6 separate regions of the Homo sapiens genome follow, and all the other regions are linked to region 1. Evidence: promoter capture Hi-C in 16 types of primary human blood cells and fetal thymus (Javierre and others, 2016). All regions are on one chromosome and are shown on one strand. The core of a region is centred on a gene start or on the middle of the fragment in contact, and the rest is flanking DNA. Distances in the headings are between cores, read along the strand shown. Region 1 holds the start of KRT86 (keratin 86). Region 2 has its middle 3.4 kb from the start of KRT18. Region 3 has its middle 9.7 kb from the start of KRT8. Region 4 has its middle 17 kb from the start of EIF4B. Region 5 has its middle 19 kb from the start of KRT18. Region 6 has its middle 7.2 kb from the start of MIR9898.

Region 1 (2,700 bases), core at 104-2,603:
GGTCACCATCCCACCATGGCCACTCTGTTGCCCCCCACTCCCACCTCTCACCTGACTCTCAGCACTGCCCACCTCCACCGTCAGCCACTGGATGGCCTGATTAAGCCTGTTCAGATCCTCCTTGCTGGGCTTCAGGCTCTGCGTGTGTTTCTGCACAGTTGCCTTTAATTCCTCACACTGTGGAGCAGACGGCAGAGGGGAGCTGTAGTCAGGAGGTGAGGAGGCCAGACAGGGCTGCCCATCCACCTGCTGTCACCAGTGGTCACCTAGCTTCTCTGGGCATCCCTTTCTCCATCTGTGAAATGGGAGTGATCATTTTTCCTATCTCCAAAGGTTGTTGAAAGAACACAGTGAGCTTGCCTTGTGCCCATGGGGCCAGAAGATGCCAAAGGAAGCCTGAACTCAGGCAGGAAGGGCAGCAACACAGGGCAGTGATCTGTTGAGGGGAGCTTTGGGACCAAGATCACATAGGGTTTATCCCAGGAACAGGGAGAGTTAAACTCTAGGAAACTGATTATTGTAGTTTACAACATCTAACCATTTAAATTAGTACAAAAAAAATTAATGAAATTCAATATTTCCTAATTTAAAAAACACATTTTAAAATCTAGGATTAGGAAGAAATGTCCTTAATTTGAATGCCATTAATCAGAAACCAGGGACAGTGATCTAGATTCCAGCTTCTTCCCCAAACCCAAGGCTGCTATGGGAAGTGCTGTCTATGAAATCAGGGGACCACTTCCCTTCTTGCACCTCGCCCCCATGTGCATTCAATACACGAATAGCCAGGGAACAATAACTCACACTTGCACAGTGCCTGATGCTTTTCACAAGCTTTTACTCCACGATCTCACTGGGGCCTCACAACCACCCATGAAGTTGGCCAGATGGATGTGACTTTTCCCATTGTCTTTCCTCAGGCAAACTGGGGCTCATTCCATCCACCACGTGCAAGAGGGGAGTGAGTGACCCTGCCAGCCGACAGTTGAGCCAGACTACATTTTAAGCCCATGCTCTTTGCTCTCCACCAAGGTTATACACACCCCCTCAACCCAGAGAGCAAGAACTGTTCACACCAGCCCATTGCAAACTTTCTTCTAGGGCAGATGGAGTGTGGGGGAACAGACCTCAAAACATCATCTCAATTTCTGCTGTGTTCCCACTGCCCCCAACTTTTCTGCTCCTGTTCCCAAAAGCTGTATGCCCAACAGATCTGGGTGAAGTCCAAGACACCTCATCCCTGTGTGACCAGGGAGCCACGTGTATGAGTCTCACCATGGAGAAAGAACTGTGGTCTCCTCCAAGCCTCTCTTGAGCACCAAAGCCCAGCTTCAGCCCAAGAGCTACCAGAATCCTTGCCACTGAGGACTAGGGCCTCTTCTTCCTGGGGGCTCTGTGACCTCATCTCATTACAATCACAGAGTTCTGCCCAGGAGGCCTCAGGGGCATAGGGTAGAAGAGGGCCATACTCTGACCCCAGGTGGGAAAATGGAAGTTTCTGGGCTGAAGTGGAACTTAAAGGAAAGTGGAGGAGGGGAAGGCTACCTCAGGTGGAGGAAATGTGTGGAGCTGAGGAGCTTAGGCTTATGGATGGGCACTGGGGAGCCACAGAGGGTGTCTGAGCAGGACAGTGGCCTGACATGAGATGTGATTGTCTAGAAGCAGTGCAGAAGATTGACAGGAGGGCAAGAAATTGGGACTGGGGATGCCAGTCCCAAGACTTGGTAGGAAATCTTGGGTAGGGCAATGACTTTAACCTGTAGGAATGAGTAGGGGCTAGAGAGCACAAGCTGTGGTCAGCATTTTCTTTTTGTTTTATAAATTTCTCATATATGCAAAAGAGTATGCAAAACCTACATTTATTGATTTCAATAGCAACAATAATAAAACAAATCCTTGTGTACCCACCAGTACCTTCAAAGCCCCCTGCGGGATTTTTGCTGATCCATCTCCAACCCCATCTGATCCCCAAAGTAACCACTGTCCTGAGTTTTTATATTGGTCATTCCCTTGCTTTTCTTTATTACTATGTCATAACGTGTATCCATAAACTAGTGTTGAGTTTTGCCTACCTTTAAGTTTTATATAAATAGAATTACACCTTGTACATTTCTATGACTTGCTTTTTCCTCCTCAACATACTAGTTTTGAGATTCATCTTTTTGATGCATGTAGTTTTATTTCTCAGTGTTGTATAGTATTCCAAAGTATGACTACATATATATAGATAGATACAGATATAGACACACACATATACATATATCTCTATTTTCCTATAGGTAGCACATGTGTTTTTTGTTTTTGTTGTAACAAACAATGCTGCCATGAACTTTCTTGTACATATCTGCTGGTGGACCTCAACAAGAGGTTCTTTGGGGTACTAGTTGTCAAACTGTTTTTTAACCTCAACTCTAAATAAGAAATATATGTTGTATCATGAATCACTACCTACGTACAAATACACCACATCTACTGAAATAAGTTTCATGGAAAAATCATTTACTTCTACTATGTGTAAGGCAATCTGATCTAACCAATCACCTTAACACATTCTTTTACTTTCAACTTATGTCCTCATGTTTTAAGTTTATTTCTTATAACTAGCATATTACTTTATTATTATAATATAATGAAAATGAAATACTCATGAACCTACTTACTGATCCCAAAACTAAAATCTTACTAGTAATTTACATTTAG
Region 2 (2,700 bases), core at 94-2,593, 670 kb before region 1:
AGGGCCTGGTATGACACATTTGGCTGTGTTCTTTGCTCTGGAGTGGACCTATTGATTCTTATCGAGCTACCAGCTGAGGGGGAAGGGGAGGACAAATAGTAGGGCAGACCTGGGAGAGAAGGGACCCTGGAAAAGCCTGGCCAGTGGACCTGCCAGGTGGGAGGCAGAGCACAGATAAAGAGCCTGAGCCTGGATTGTTCCTGATCTGTCACCTAATGGTGGGGAGAGCCCCACAGTGCTCAATGGGAGCCAGCCAGGGGGCAGTCAGGGTGGAAGCTGGCCAGGGGAGGGTCGGGGCCTGCTGAAGGCTGGGAGGCAAACGGGATGCAAAATAACATACAAATGAATGCCCACTGGTTTTGCATACAAGGCTTCTGGGAGGTAAGAGGTTCCAGTCAGAGGGGTCTCTCCTGCTTTCACCTTTATATTCCCCCACTGGATTCCAGAACTGTCAAGTTGGGCAGTATTTTATAATAAAGTATGTGGAGTCAACAAGCTACGTACTGCCTTTTACTGTTATTGCTAAGCTTTAAGTCAGCCAGCCTGGATACTTTGCTAGCTGTGTAACCTTGGGGAAGTCACCTAACTCTGAACTTCAATTTCTTCACTTGTACAGGGAAAACAGTAAGACCTGTCCAGTCTATTTCCTCAGGTGGCAGTGAATGTGAGTGTAAATTGTCACTCACTCATTCATCAAACAAATACTAATTATTTGTACTGGAGCCTTCCTTCAAAGTAAGGAAGGCTTCAATATATACAGGAGGGCAGATAAAGGGGGTCAATTTAATTCGAAAGACGGGCTCAAGGGGTTTGAAGTCTGTCTCTCTGAGTCATTTAAAAACCCTGGGGCACTTTGAAATCTACCAGCAATCAAAACAGATTCTAGAATTTTTCTCCAAGCTAATTCCCAGGTCCTTGTCTGATTCCTGCCCCACCCCAACTGCTAGGAAACTTCTGGGACCTGTGGAGGTGCAGCGTGGGGGCTGGAGAGGGAGAGCTGCCAGCTAGACTTTATCTCTCCTACTGATGTCGATGGCCACATTCCTGACTTCTTGCAGCATGGGGCAAATACCGACCTCGGGCTTCCAGCACCAGCCTGCCCCTTTCCACCACTTCCAGATTCCTCTGTGGCTCAGGGCTTTTTCACTTTGTCAGAGAGCCTCTTGGAGAGCTGGGGTGAAGGTCTCGGCCTCCAGATTCCCAGCACTAGGGTTCTGGGGTGGGGGTGGGAAGCAAGGTGGAAAGGGGGATGGCGTGATTGTGAGGACAGTCCCGGGAAAGGGTGGAGCAGGAGGGGCCCTGGTGAGAAGCTCCCAGAACAGACACAAAGAGTAATGAGCCTCGGCAGGGGGGAATCCGGAAAGAGGGGAAATGGTTCTCCACCCACCATCAGTCCTGCATTCCAGCGTCCAGCAGAAGGGGAGTGGGAACCTGTGAGGCAGGTTTAACTTCAGAGTAGACTCAGAGATGACCCGATAGGGGTGGGTCAGCTCTTACTGCCCACTCCACATTCTCCCACAAAGGGCTTGAGCTGATGGCTCTGGGGAAACTAGGTGGTGGAGAGATGAGAGGATTAGGGAGGATTGGAAGGCCTGCAGTCCTTCCGCCTTTGCTTTAACATTTAGGCTGGAAATTCCTTGCTCAGCCTGGAGGAGGGAGGTGTTCGGAACAGCAACTGAGGTGTAAGGATGGGGTCTATACACAAAACAGGGAGAGACTGATTCCCATCCTCTTCTTTAAAGACTGAGGGTGACTCCAGTGTGTTGGAGACAGTGAGAAGGCCCTGTGGTGGGGTGGGCTGGAGGGAGGAAGGGATCGCCTGGGAGGCTCCCCTGGGCTCCTTTCAGCTACTCTCAGTGGAGGGTATACCCATGCAGGGGGCCCTCCCACAGGAGAAATCCCAGGGCTGCTGAGTTAAGGGTAGAGCTGTTGAGACAGAGGGAGATCTGGGGTAGAACCCAAAGGAAAAGGAATCTGGGGTGGAATGGGAATCCTCCTGCCCAGCCCTGCATCTGGCACATAGGTGGAGCTCCGTAAATACTTTAGGTTTAAGTAATTAATAAACATGGGGTGCTAGGAGAGGTCAGTGGGGGTCATCAGAAAGTGCAGTCAGGTAGACTGCAGAGAGACAAGAGGTGGGGGCAAGGGTACAAGCTTCAGAGGCAGCTGCGGAGCAGGGGGAGGATGCGGGTGGCAGCTGGGTGCAGGACCCAGTCTGATATCAAGACTTCTGGAATTTCAGCACCCTATTTGGAGTCCCTGGCACTGCCTGTGGAGGTGGGAACGGGTTCTCAGGGCTTGGGCCAGGCCCTCTTCCCCAGGGGTGGGAGAGTCGAGGAATGCCCTGACACTTAGTATCATTGCTTCGGTTGGGTTTGTGCCCTAGGGGTTATTTTCCAAGGATAAAGGAAGAGGAAGGGTCAGCGCTGAGAAGCGTGTGGCTGCCCAGAAACCTCCAGGCGCTGAAGCTCAGAGAAGTCGGGGAACCTGGCCCTTCTAGGAGCCCCTCAGCTCCCTGGCCCAGCCCCACCAGGAATGGCCTTGCCTGTGCTTATGTCCTTTGCCCATTCTGACCCTGGTGCTGTTGGCTTCTCCTCAGGTGCAACCCCAGTATCCCAATGCCATATCCCCCAGCCTATCGCCTCACTCAAATCTGCCCAGAGATTAGGGGAGGGCAAAGGGATGAATAGGGCACTTGGT
Region 3 (2,700 bases), core at 201-2,700, 640 kb before region 1:
CTCTGTCTGGCCTCTGAAACCCCTAGTCCCACCCTCCTCCCCAATATCTAGCTTTTCTACTCTTCCATAGGAATCCCGCTCCTGTCCAGTGGCTTATCACATTTCCAGATCTTTCCATCCATATCTTACTTTCCTAAGCTCAGCTTGATCTAAGGGCTCTCTCCTTCCCCTGAAGTCCTATAGCATACATCTGAATCATTTATTTATCTGAAATCAATATTCCGTTGATAAGGTACAGAAGGTAGACTTTGGCCAGGTAGTATTTGTATTTATAGAAGGGCTCGGTGTGTACACGGATATCTTTATACCTGGCTTCTCTGGTTCCACGTCTTTATTGGTGTACATTTTGGTTAGCATATGTAGTGAACATCTGTTGTTTCTGCCTGTCCAGCATTTGTTTATCTTTTCTTTTCTCTTCTTTTTTTTTTGAGACGGAGTCTTGCTCTGTTACCCAGGCTGGGCTGGAGTTCAGTGGTGGGATCTTGGCTCACTGCAGCCTCTGCCTCCTGGGTTCAAGCGATTCTCCTGTCTCAGCCTCCCAAGTAGCTGGGACTACAGGCATGCACCACCATGCTCGGCTGATTTTTTTGTATTTTTAGTACAGATGGGGTTTCACCATGTTGACCAGGCTGGTCTCGACCTCCTGACCTCAGGTGATCCACCCGCCTCAGCCTCCTGAAGTGCTAGGATTACAGGCGTGAGGCATGGTTCCTGGCCCTGTCCAGCATTTCTTCCTGGTCTTTTGGTGAATCACATTTTTTTTTTTTTTGAGATGGAGTCTTGCTCTGTTGCCCAAGCTGGAGTGCAGTGGCGAGATCTCGGCTCACTGCAGGCTCCGTCCCCTGGGGTTCACGCCATTCTCCTGCCTCAGCCTCCTGAGTAGCTGGGACTACAGGTGCCCGCCACCTCGCCCGGCTAATTTTTTGTATCTTTAGTAGAGACGGGGTTTCACTGTGTTAGCCAGGATGGTCTCGATCTCCTGACCTCATGATCCGCCCACCTCTGCCTCCCAAAGAGCTGGGATTACAGGCGTGAGCCACCGCGCCTGGCCCAAATCACATTTTTTTTCCCCTTTCTCTATAGGTTGGGTGGGGCTGATCACCCCTCCACAGGGTCTTGTTATGTGGTCTAGTCTAGTCAACATGATAGTATTCTATTCCCCTGGCCACAGGGATTGGTTCAGAGATGAGCATGTGACCTATATCAGCCTTGGAGAGTCAGCCCTGGAACTTCAGCAGGAAGCATCGGGAAAGAGGTGCTCCCTTAGTGGTCGCCCTTCCTGCAGCAGGGAGATGGCCTGCCCGAGGACGAAGCTAACATGGAGGAAAATAGCCAAAAGACAGGAAGAGAGTCTTGGTCCTGATGATATCACTGAGCCCCTTATCTGGCTAGGCTGAAAGCCAAATGCACCCTTGAACTTCTCAATTATAAGAAATGATCTTTTTATGCTTAAGTCTGTTTGAGTTGGGTTTCAGCCACTTGCAATCAAGAATGTGTATCCTTTGGCTGGGAGCTGGGGCTCACACCTGTAACTTTGGGAGTCACAGCACTTTGGGAGGCCAAGGTGGGAGGATTGCTTGAGGCAAGGATTTTTTGTTTGTTTTTGAGACGGAGTTTCACTGTTGTTGCCCAGGCTGGAGTGCAATGGTATGATCACAGCTCGCTGCAACCTCCACCTCCTGGCTTCGAGCAATTCTCCTGCCTCAGCCTCCTGAGTAGCTGGGGTTACAGGCATGCGCCACCATACTATGCTAATTTTTTGGTATTTTTAGTAAGGACAGTTTCTCCATGTTGGTCAGGCTGGTCTCGAACTCCCAACCTCAGGTGATCCGCCTGCCTCGGCCTCCCAAAGTGCTGGGATTACAGGCGTGAGCCACTGCACCCGGTGGATTTTTTTTTTGTTTTGTTTGTTTTATTTTTGAGACAGAGTCTCGCTCTGTCGCCCAGGCTGGAGTGCAATAGGGCAGTCTTGGCTCACTGCAATCTTTGCCTCCTGGGTTCAAGCGATTCTCCTGCCTCAGCCTCCCGAGTAGCTGGGATTACAGGTGCCTGCCACCATGCCCAGCTAATTTTTATATTATTAGTAGAGACGGGATTTCACCATGTTGGTCAGGCTGGTCTTGATCTCCTGACTTCAGGTAATCAGCTGGCCTTGGCCTCCTAAAGTGCTAGTATTAGAGAGGCATGAGCCACCTCTCTCAGCCTGAGGCCAGGATTTTGAGACCAGCCTGGGCAATATAGTGAAACCTCTGTCTGTATAAAAGAAAAAACAAACAAACCTGTAACCGTGTATTTGAGTTTGGATGTGTGTTATATATGGCTGTGTGTGCACAGGTATGTGTGTGACGTTCGTAGGAAGGTGGTGTGCACGGGACTCTGACGGGTGGTACACGCACATGCTTGTGCCTGAGATGAGGATGTGAGGTGGTACTGCACCTTGGCGTGTGCGTCAGGCCATGCAAGTGAGAGGGCAGGTGGGGTGTGTGTGAACCTGAGAGAGTGTGTGAGGGACAAGAGGGCGTGTGTGCTATAGGCTGAGGTTGTGTGCCCACAGGGTGGGGGGTGGGCCTGTGAGGCTGTTTGTTCTGGGAGATAACCCATCAAACATGTGTGCTTTGTATTTATATGGATACATGCATATAAAGACACGTGCTCAAAAACACCTGCTTATCATCATGCACCTCTGCCCTCCTGAAAATT
Region 4 (2,700 bases), core at 136-2,635, 710 kb before region 1:
ACTCCGCTCTAACTATGACTTTCCTTTCCCCTCTGTGCTGCTTCAGGAATTGTCCCACTTGAGTTCATCTCCGCCCATCCACCTAGCACATAGTTCCTGGATAAATCTCCCTGAAAGAGCGCTCTTACTGTGTCACCACATCTCTTTCCAAGGCCCTACTCTCCAGCATTGAAAGCTCTGCATGAACTGCCCTCAGCTTGCTTTTCCTACTATATCTGTCACCTCAACTTCTGCCTGGCCCGGAGCGGACGCTGGGCTTTTCCATGTTACTCATCATTCTCTTCATCTGGAATGCCTGCTCCCTCTTAGTCTTGCCAAATCCTTTGCAGGAGAAGCCCCTCCTACTTCAAGACATCTTCCCAAGACATCCTGTTGGCCTGGTCTCCCATTTAGTTGTGTATTTGGCTTATTTTATCCAGGTGGTATTTTATACACAGTTTTTTTCCTCTTCTTCAGGGCCTTGTAACATGTAAACCTCATTTCTGTTTTGGTTTTTTTTTGTTGTTTGTTTTTGTGTGTGTGTGTGTGTGTGTTTTTTTTTTGAGACGGAGTCTCGCTCTGTTGCCCAGGCTGAGGTGAAGTGGTGCGACCTTGGCTCACTGCAACCTCCACCTCCTGGGTTCAAGCAATTCTCCTGCCTCAGCCTCCTGAGTAGCTGAGACTACAGGTGTGTACCACCATGCCTGGCTAATTTTTGTATTTCTAGTAGCAATGGGGTTTCGCCATGTTGGTCAGGCTGGTCACAAACTCCTGACCTCAGGTGATCCACTTACCTCGTCCTCCTAAAGTGCTGGGATTACAGGCATGAGCCACCACGTCCAGCAGTTTTTGTTGTTTTTTAGAGTCAGAGTCTTGCTCTGTTGCCCACACTAGGGTGCAGTGGTGCAATCATGGCTTACTGCAACCTTGAACTCCTGGGCTCAAGCAATCCTCCTGCCTCAGCCTCCTGAGTAGCTGGACTACAGGCATGCACCACCACACCCAGTTAACTTCTAAAATTTTTTGTATAGATGGGTGTCTTGCTATGTTGCCCAGGCTGATCTCAAACTCCTGGCCTCAAGTGATCCTTCTGCCTTGGTCTCTCAGAGTGCTGGGATTACAGGTGTGAGCCACTGCACCCAGCCTAAACCTGTTTTTTTAATGTTCTTCTACTTTTTTTTTTTTTTTTGAGACAGAGTCTTGCTCTGTCACTGGGCTGGAGTGCAGTGGTGTGATCTCAGCTCACTGCAACCTCTGCCTCCCGGGTTCAAGCAATTCTCCTGCCTCAGCCTCCTGAGTAGCTGGAACTACAGGCGTGTGCCACCACGCCCAGCTAATTTTTGTATTCTTAGTGGAGATGGGGTTTCACCATGTTGGCCAGGATGGTCTCGATCTCTTGACTTCGTGATCCGCCTGCCTCGGCCTCCCAGAGTGCTGGGATTACAGGCATGAGCCACCACGCCCGGTCGTTTTGTTTATTTTTCTAATGAAGATTTCTGCTTGGGGAGTTCAGGTGGGGCTTTTTCTTGAGTAAATCCAACCACCTCTACCAAAGACTCTGTAGTTCCCACTTCCTGGGTTGGAGATTGTTAGTCAAAGGAGGAACTGGTGAGGACTTTGGCTAGAAATTTCCCACGTGGTATTTCAAAACCAAACCCAATTCTGGACCCAGACAGGAGAGCAGTTTGGGGTTGCTTATTAGGACAGGCTTGTTTGACACTAGCATACTAAAGTTCTCCTTCTTTTCCTTCTTACTTTCCAGTTCAGACTTTTGAATGATGGGGTATGTTTGAGAAGCAACTAAAAACCCAACCTCTGCCCCTTGGGAGTTTATTACAAATTTATAGTTAGTTGTATTTTCTTGGCAGGTATTGATAAGAAAGTAATTCACCTGATTAATGTTTTTATTGTATATCTGTGGATAAATGAGTAATGAATATATAAATAGTGGAGTATTATCTAATAGACAAATCAAAGGTAAATGTAATAGAGGAAGGAGCTATGGATAAACTCATCACAGAGCTGGGTCAAGTTACACTTTCTCCCACCTTGATCTTGTGTCTGTCTTAGTCAGTTCTGCTGTAACAAATTACTATAGACAGGGTGGCTTAAACAACAAACATTTCTTTTTTGTTTTTGAGACGGAGTCTCACTCTGTCGCCCAGGCTGGAGTGCAGTGGCTGGTGCAATCTCGACTCACTGCAACCTCCACTTCCCAGGTTCAAGCAATTCTCCTGCCTCAGCCCTCCGGAGTAGCTGGGACTACAGGGACCCACCACCACACCTGGCTCATTTTTATATTTTTAGACGGGGTTTCACCAGGTTTGCCAGGCTACTCTCGAACTCCTGACCTCAGGTGATCTCAGGTGATCCACTCACCTCGGCCTCCAAAAGTGCTGGGATTACAGGCGTGAGCCACCGCGCCCGGCCAACAACAAACATCTCTTTCTTTCTTTTTTTTTTTCTGAGACACAGTTTCGCTCTTGTCACCCAGGCTGGAGTGCAATGGCATGATCTCAGCTCACTGCAACCTCCGCTTCCTGGGTTCAAGTAATTCTCCTGCCTCAGTCTCCCAAGTAGCTGGGATTACAGGCATGTACCACCATGCTTAGCTAATTTTTGTATTTTTGTATTTTTTTTTGATGGAGTCTCGCTCTGTTGCCCAGGCCGGAGTGCAGTGGCACGATCTTGGCTCACTGCAACCTCCGCCTCCTGGGTTCA
Region 5 (2,700 bases), core at 34-2,533, 690 kb before region 1:
AAAGAAAAAAAAATGGAGCAGATTAAGATGAGATTTTATTTTTCTTTTTTTCCTTAAAAAGAAAAAAAGGCTAGGCGAGGTGGCTCATGTCTGTAATCCAAAGGCTAGGTGAGGTGGCTCATGTCTGTAATCCCAGAACTTTGGGAGGCCGAGGTAGGTGGATCATTTGAGGTCAGGCGTTTGAGACCAGCTTGGCCAACGTGGTGAAATCCTTGTCTCTACTAAAAATACGAAAATTAGCTGGGCGTGGTGGTGCACACCTGTAATCCCAGCTACTGGAGAGGCTGAGGCGGGAGAATCGCTTGAATCTGGGAGGTGGAGGTTGCAGTGAGCTGAGAAGCCGAGACCACGCCACTACACTCCAGCCTGGGTGACAGAGTAAGACTCCGTCTCAAAAAAAAAAAAAAAAACAAATTCTTCCTGGGCTTTCTTAAAGCTGGGGTGTGTGTGAAGCGAAGCTGAGGAAGTTCAATTGTTCTCCCACTAAGTTCTCTTTCCTGGAACAAAGAGGACCTGCAAAGAGAGTGAGAGGACTGCTGGCATCTTGAAATATTCTTCTACTCTCCTTTGTCCTCTTTTCCTTGGGTGAGGCATGCAGAGACTCCTCTTGGTTTGTTATTTGCTCATTTATTTGTTCATTCATTTGCTTATTCATTCAAAAGCTAGTAAGAGAAGATTGTTAAATTTGAAAATTTTGCTTCCCAGAATTAAACCATTTTAAATCAACCATGACAGCAGTATTTATACCTTGGATATTGGCAAATGCTATAGGTTATTAAATAAAATAAAATAACATTTTATTTACAATTTAATAAAAATTACAATTTCAAATTTTTGTCTTTAAAAAAGAAAATAACAACCTGCTGTTTATGTGTTGGAATTGTGTTATGTATCAGGGCATAAGAGTGAACAAGATAGTCCAGTCTCTGCTCAAAGGGAGCTTACAGTCTGGTGCTGCACTGTCCTGTCCAATCTGGTAGCCATTAGCTACTAGCTACTGCTGTGGTTATTAATTTATTTTTTAAAGTTTTTAATTTTGGCTGAGTCTGGTGGCTCATGCCTGTAATCCCAGCGCTTTGGGAGGCCGAGGCAGGTGGATCACCTGAGGTTAGGAGTTCGAGACCAGTCTGGCCAACATGGCGAAACCCCGTCTCTACTCCAAATCCAAAAAAAAAAAAAAAAAAAAAAAATTAGCCAGGTGTGGTGGTGGGCGCCTGTAATCCCAACTACTCGGAAGACTGAGGCAGGAGAATCACTTGAACCTGGGAGGCGGAGGTTGCAGTGAGCCGAGATTGAGCCAGTGCACTCCAGCCTGGGCAACAAGAGTGAAACTCTGTCTCAAAAAAAAAAAAGTTTTTAATTTTTGTGGGTACCCAGTATGTGTATCTATTTTAGGGTACACGAGATATTTTGATACAGGCATACAATGCATAATAATCTCATCAGGGCATCCATCACTTCAAGCATTTATCCTTTATGTTACAAACAATCCAATTATACTCTTTTAGTTATTTTTAAATGTACAATAATTTATTTTTTTTGAGACGGAGTCTTGCTCCATTGCCCAGGCTGGAGTGCAATGGCATGATCTTGGCTCACTGCAACCTCTGCCTCTCGGGTTCAAGCAATTCCCCTGCCTCAGCCTCCCGAGTAGCTGGGATTACAGGCATGCACCACCATGCCTGGCTAATTTTTGTATTTTTAGTAGAGACGGGGTTTTACCATGTTGGTCAGGCACGTCTTGAACTCCTGTCCTTGTGATCTGCCCGCCTCAGCCTTCCAAAGTGCTGGGATTACAGGCATGAGCCACTGCACCCAGCCTTAGGCTGGTGCTTTTTAAACTTTTTTTGCTTCTGGGGAGTGGGTGATAGGGAAAGTTCTGCCAGCCTGGGAGGGGCCCACTAGAGCCTGCTGCTCCAGTGTGGATTGTGGGGAGAGGAAAAGGAACTGTGTGCTTTGGGCCCAGATCACTGGAGTGCCCTGAGTCTCTGAGAAGTTTACCCTACATCCCTCCTGTGGCAGCACCATCCACTTCACCAGGATCTGACCAGGGCCTTCAGGGGGACACAGCCTCCCCGGATCTGAGCATCACTATCATTCTAATTCCTTGGGCTGTTTCTGTGTAGATAATTATTTTCCAGCTCATTCAGGCAGGTGAGGTTGAGGCCAGCAGTGCAGCTAAATCCTTACACCGTGACTGGGGCTGCTTTTATACAGGTTAGGGGAAGAATAATCACTTATGGCTGAAATCTAATGGAAGAGGGAGTTCTGTGTAACTCTAGTGGGCAGAGCTGAGTTTAGAAGGTTAGTAGGAGGCAGATTTCAGCCCAGTAGAAGGAACAATAATGTTCCAGTAATTATACAATTATTATCCAACAGGGGCTATACTGTCATAAATTCTTCAAACGGAGGCCAGATGTTAGGAAGGCCACAAAGAGGATTCCTACTGGGAGAGGCCAAACTTGAACCATCTGTTTATTTATTTTATTTTATTTATTTATTTTTTTGAGAATGGAGTTTCACTCTTGTCACCCAGGCTGGAGTGCAATGGCACAAACTTGGCTCACTGCAACCTCCGCCTCCCGGGTTCAGGTGATTCTTTTGCCTCAGCCTCCCAAGTAGCTAGGATTACAGGCATGCACCACCACGCCTGGCTAATTTTGTATTTTTAGTAGAGACGGGGTTTCTCTATGTTGGTCA
Region 6 (2,700 bases), core at 141-2,640, 620 kb before region 1:
TTCCACTTTGGGATGTGCCACAATTTACTTAACCAGTCCTCTATTGGTATTTGCTATGACAATGGTGAGGATATCTTAATAATTCCTACAAGTGGAATTGCTGAAGCAAAATGTGTGCACATTTAAATTTTAGTAGACTTTTTGTTTTTAAAGCTTGATTTCCTATGGGACTGAATTTTAGTTTTTTAGAAAATTTACATGTGTAGAAGAAGGTTCCTGTTTGACTATTCCAGATGAGCCAGCCATTATCCCCCACTTCCCTCCACCCTGCCTTTCCCGACCCAACCACCCAGGATTAAAATGATGAGTCTTCCAAGCATTTGTGGACTCTTCTGAAGATATTTTAATTCCAAGGTTTTGCTCTGCCTGCCCGCTGATCTGGGCTAAGGTGGTCTAGGAGCTCCCCTGTAGTAGGGGGATCTGAAGGTGGGCTAAGGACCGAGGGCCAGGCTGACTGGAGTGTAAGGTGGTGGGAATGGAGGAGTGAATGTTAAAGCAAGGCATGTGACAATGCGGACAGTACATACCCTTCATGAAGGATAGATAGAAATGTGTGCATGCATGTCCCTACGTAATTATATATCATAGATTCTACCTGTTGGGAAAGGAAGAGGAAGCACCACTGCAAGGAAAGGAAGGCAGGGAAGGATACCAGCATGGTGGGTGGCCCCCTAGTTCACTCTCCGCGCTGCCCTTTTACACATTGTGGTGGGCATAGTTGCTTTGTCTAGCCAGGACCCCTTCCCCCTTCTTCTAGTAATGCAAAGCTCCCCCACCTCCACTCCTGCCACGCCCCACTTCTTTTCAGGAACTGTTCCTCCTAAGATCACAGGACCTCTGTCCAGGCACACAGGGTTCACAATGGGCCAGCCTTGGCCAATCACAAGTCCCTTTGTTTCCTCCTTGCTGAGGCATATTGTACATACAATAAAATGCAAAATGTGCTTTAATGGGGAATGTACAACCTGATGAGTTTTTTTATTTTTATTTTTATTTATTTTTTTTGAGATGGAGTTTCACTCTTGTTGCCCAGGCTGAAGTGCAATGGCACGATCTCGGCTCACTGCAACCTCCGCTGCCCAGGTTCAAGCGATTCTCCCGCCTCAGCCTCCTGAGTAGCTGGGACTACAGGCATGCGCCACCACGCCGGGCTAATTTTGTATTTTTAGTAGAGACGGGGTTTCTCCGTGTTGGTCAGGCAACTCCCGACCTCAGGTGATCCACCCGCCTCAGCCTCCCAAAGTGCTGGGATTACAGGCGTGAGCCACCGTGCCCGGCGCCTGATGAGTTTTAACTTATGTTCACACCTGTAATGTAGAACATTTCCTATATCACAGAAGGTTCACTTGGGCCCCTTGCCAGAGTGCACTTTTTTTTAGTAGACTTATTTTTTAAGAACAGTTTTAGCTAGGCGCTGTGGCTCATGCCTGTAATCCCAGCACTTTGGGAGGCTGAGGCGGGTGGATCACGAGGTCAGGAGATCGAGACCATCCTGGCTAACATGGTGAAACCCCGTCTCTACTAAAAAATACAAAAAAATTATCTGGGTGTGGTGGCAGGCGCCTGTAGTCCCAGCTACTCGAGAGGCTGAGGCAGGAGAATGGTGTGAACCCAGGAGGCAGAGCTTGCAGTGAACTGAGATCATGCCACTGCACTCCAGCCTGGGCGACAGAGAAAGACTCCGTCTCAAAAAAAAAAAAAAAAAAAAAAAAGAAAAAAAGAGCAATTTTAGGTTCATAGCAAAATCGAGCAGGAGGTAGAGGGTTCTCATACACATTCTGCCCCTACACCTGCATCCCACACCAGAGGGCTACATTTGTTACAACATCATCAACATCCCACCTCAGAGGGATACATTTGTTACGATTGATGAACCTACATTGACACATCATTATTACCCACAGTCCATAGTTCACATTAGAGTTAACTCTTAGTGTGGACATTCTGTGGGGGCCATGTAGCCACCATTACAGTACCATACAGAATAGTTCACTGCCCCCAAAATCAGAGTGCATTCTCAAAAATATGAATCAGATTCAGTTACTTCCTTATATGGAAAACCCTTTATTTTTATTTTATTTTTTTCTTTTCTTTCTTTATTTTTTATTATACTTTAAGTTCTAGGGTACATGTGCACAACATGCAGGTTTGTTACATATGTATACATGTGCCATGTTGGTGTGCTGCACCCGTTAACTCGTTAACTCTTCATTTACATTAGGTATATCTCCTAATGCTATCCCTCCCCTCTACCCCCACCCCACGACAGGCCCTGGTGTGTGATGTTCCCCACCCTGTGTCTAAGTGTTCTCATTGTTCAATTCCCACCTATGAGTGAGAACATGCGGTGTTTGGTTTTCTGCCCTTGCAATAGTTTGCTCAGAATGATGGGAAAACCCTTTACTTTTGACACCCAGAATAAAGCCCTAAATCTTGACTTGGCCCACAGGCTGTGCCTACTCTTCCTCCTCTGAGGCCTCATCCTGGCCACTCTGTCCCTTGCTCTCTGATGCAGTGGTGCAGGCTTTTCAGGGCATAGCCTACATGGAATTTGCTTCTGCTCAGGGCATTGCATGGCTGGCCCCCTGCTTGGAACACCCTGCCTTTCCTAGTCACTCCCAAGCTTTCCGCTCAAACGCAGCTTCCCCAAGAAAGTCTTCTGACACCACAAGACAAGACAAAAAGTTTTATGACACCACA

The links. The method cuts DNA at HindIII sites, captures the fragments that hold promoters and counts their contacts. A CHiCAGO score of 5 or more calls a contact.
Region 2: a contact is called between a fragment that was not itself captured here and the fragment with the promoter of KRT86 in region 1, in 1 of 17 cell types (M2 macrophages). The highest score is 5.9, in M2 macrophages.
Region 3: a fragment that was not itself captured here is called in contact with the fragment with the promoter of KRT86 in region 1 in 3 of 17 cell types (naive CD8 T cells, endothelial precursors and M2 macrophages); the score reaches 5.9 in naive CD8 T cells.
Region 4: a contact is called between a fragment that was not itself captured here and the fragment with the promoter of KRT86 in region 1, in 1 of 17 cell types (M2 macrophages). The highest score is 5.2, in M2 macrophages.
Region 5: a fragment that was not itself captured here is called in contact with the fragment with the promoter of KRT86 in region 1 in 4 of 17 cell types (M2 macrophages, erythroblasts, naive CD8 T cells and 1 more); the score reaches 6.3 in M2 macrophages.
Region 6: a fragment that was not itself captured here is called in contact with the fragment with the promoter of KRT86 in region 1 in 4 of 17 cell types (erythroblasts, activated CD4 T cells, M2 macrophages and 1 more); the score reaches 6.0 in erythroblasts.

The regions. Positions count from the first base shown.
Region 1 is chr12:52,273,298-52,275,997 of GRCh38, reverse strand. It overlaps KRT86 (keratin 86), which reads right to left and starts at 1,353. Exons shown (of 11, transcript NM_001320198.2): 1 at 1,276-1,353; 2 at 52-177. It overlaps KRT86-AS2 (KRT86 antisense RNA 2), which reads left to right. Exons shown (of 2, transcript NR_199073.1): 2 at 921-2,700. The HindIII fragment of the contact is 3,258 bases long and covers 837-2,700 here.
Region 2 is chr12:52,944,409-52,947,108 of GRCh38, reverse strand. It overlaps a transcript of KRT8 not described here. Among named protein-coding and RNA genes, the nearest start is that of KRT18, 3.4 kb to the left of the region's middle. RefSeq lists a silencer at 1-24 and an enhancer at 975-1,570. The HindIII fragment of the contact is 1,627 bases long and covers 530-2,156 here.
Region 3 is chr12:52,913,443-52,916,142 of GRCh38, reverse strand. It overlaps a transcript of KRT8 not described here. Among named protein-coding and RNA genes, the nearest start is that of KRT8, 9.7 kb to the right of the region's middle. The HindIII fragment of the contact is 8,808 bases long and covers 1-2,700 here.
Region 4 is chr12:52,987,982-52,990,681 of GRCh38, reverse strand. No RefSeq gene overlaps it. Among named protein-coding and RNA genes, the nearest start is that of EIF4B, 17 kb to the left of the region's middle. The HindIII fragment of the contact is 7,088 bases long and covers 1-2,700 here.
Region 5 is chr12:52,967,145-52,969,844 of GRCh38, reverse strand. No RefSeq gene overlaps it. Among named protein-coding and RNA genes, the nearest start is that of KRT18, 19 kb to the right of the region's middle. The HindIII fragment of the contact is 7,174 bases long and covers 1-2,700 here.
Region 6 is chr12:52,890,454-52,893,153 of GRCh38, reverse strand. No RefSeq gene overlaps it. Among named protein-coding and RNA genes, the nearest start is that of MIR9898, 7.2 kb to the left of the region's middle. The HindIII fragment of the contact is 2,470 bases long and covers 156-2,625 here.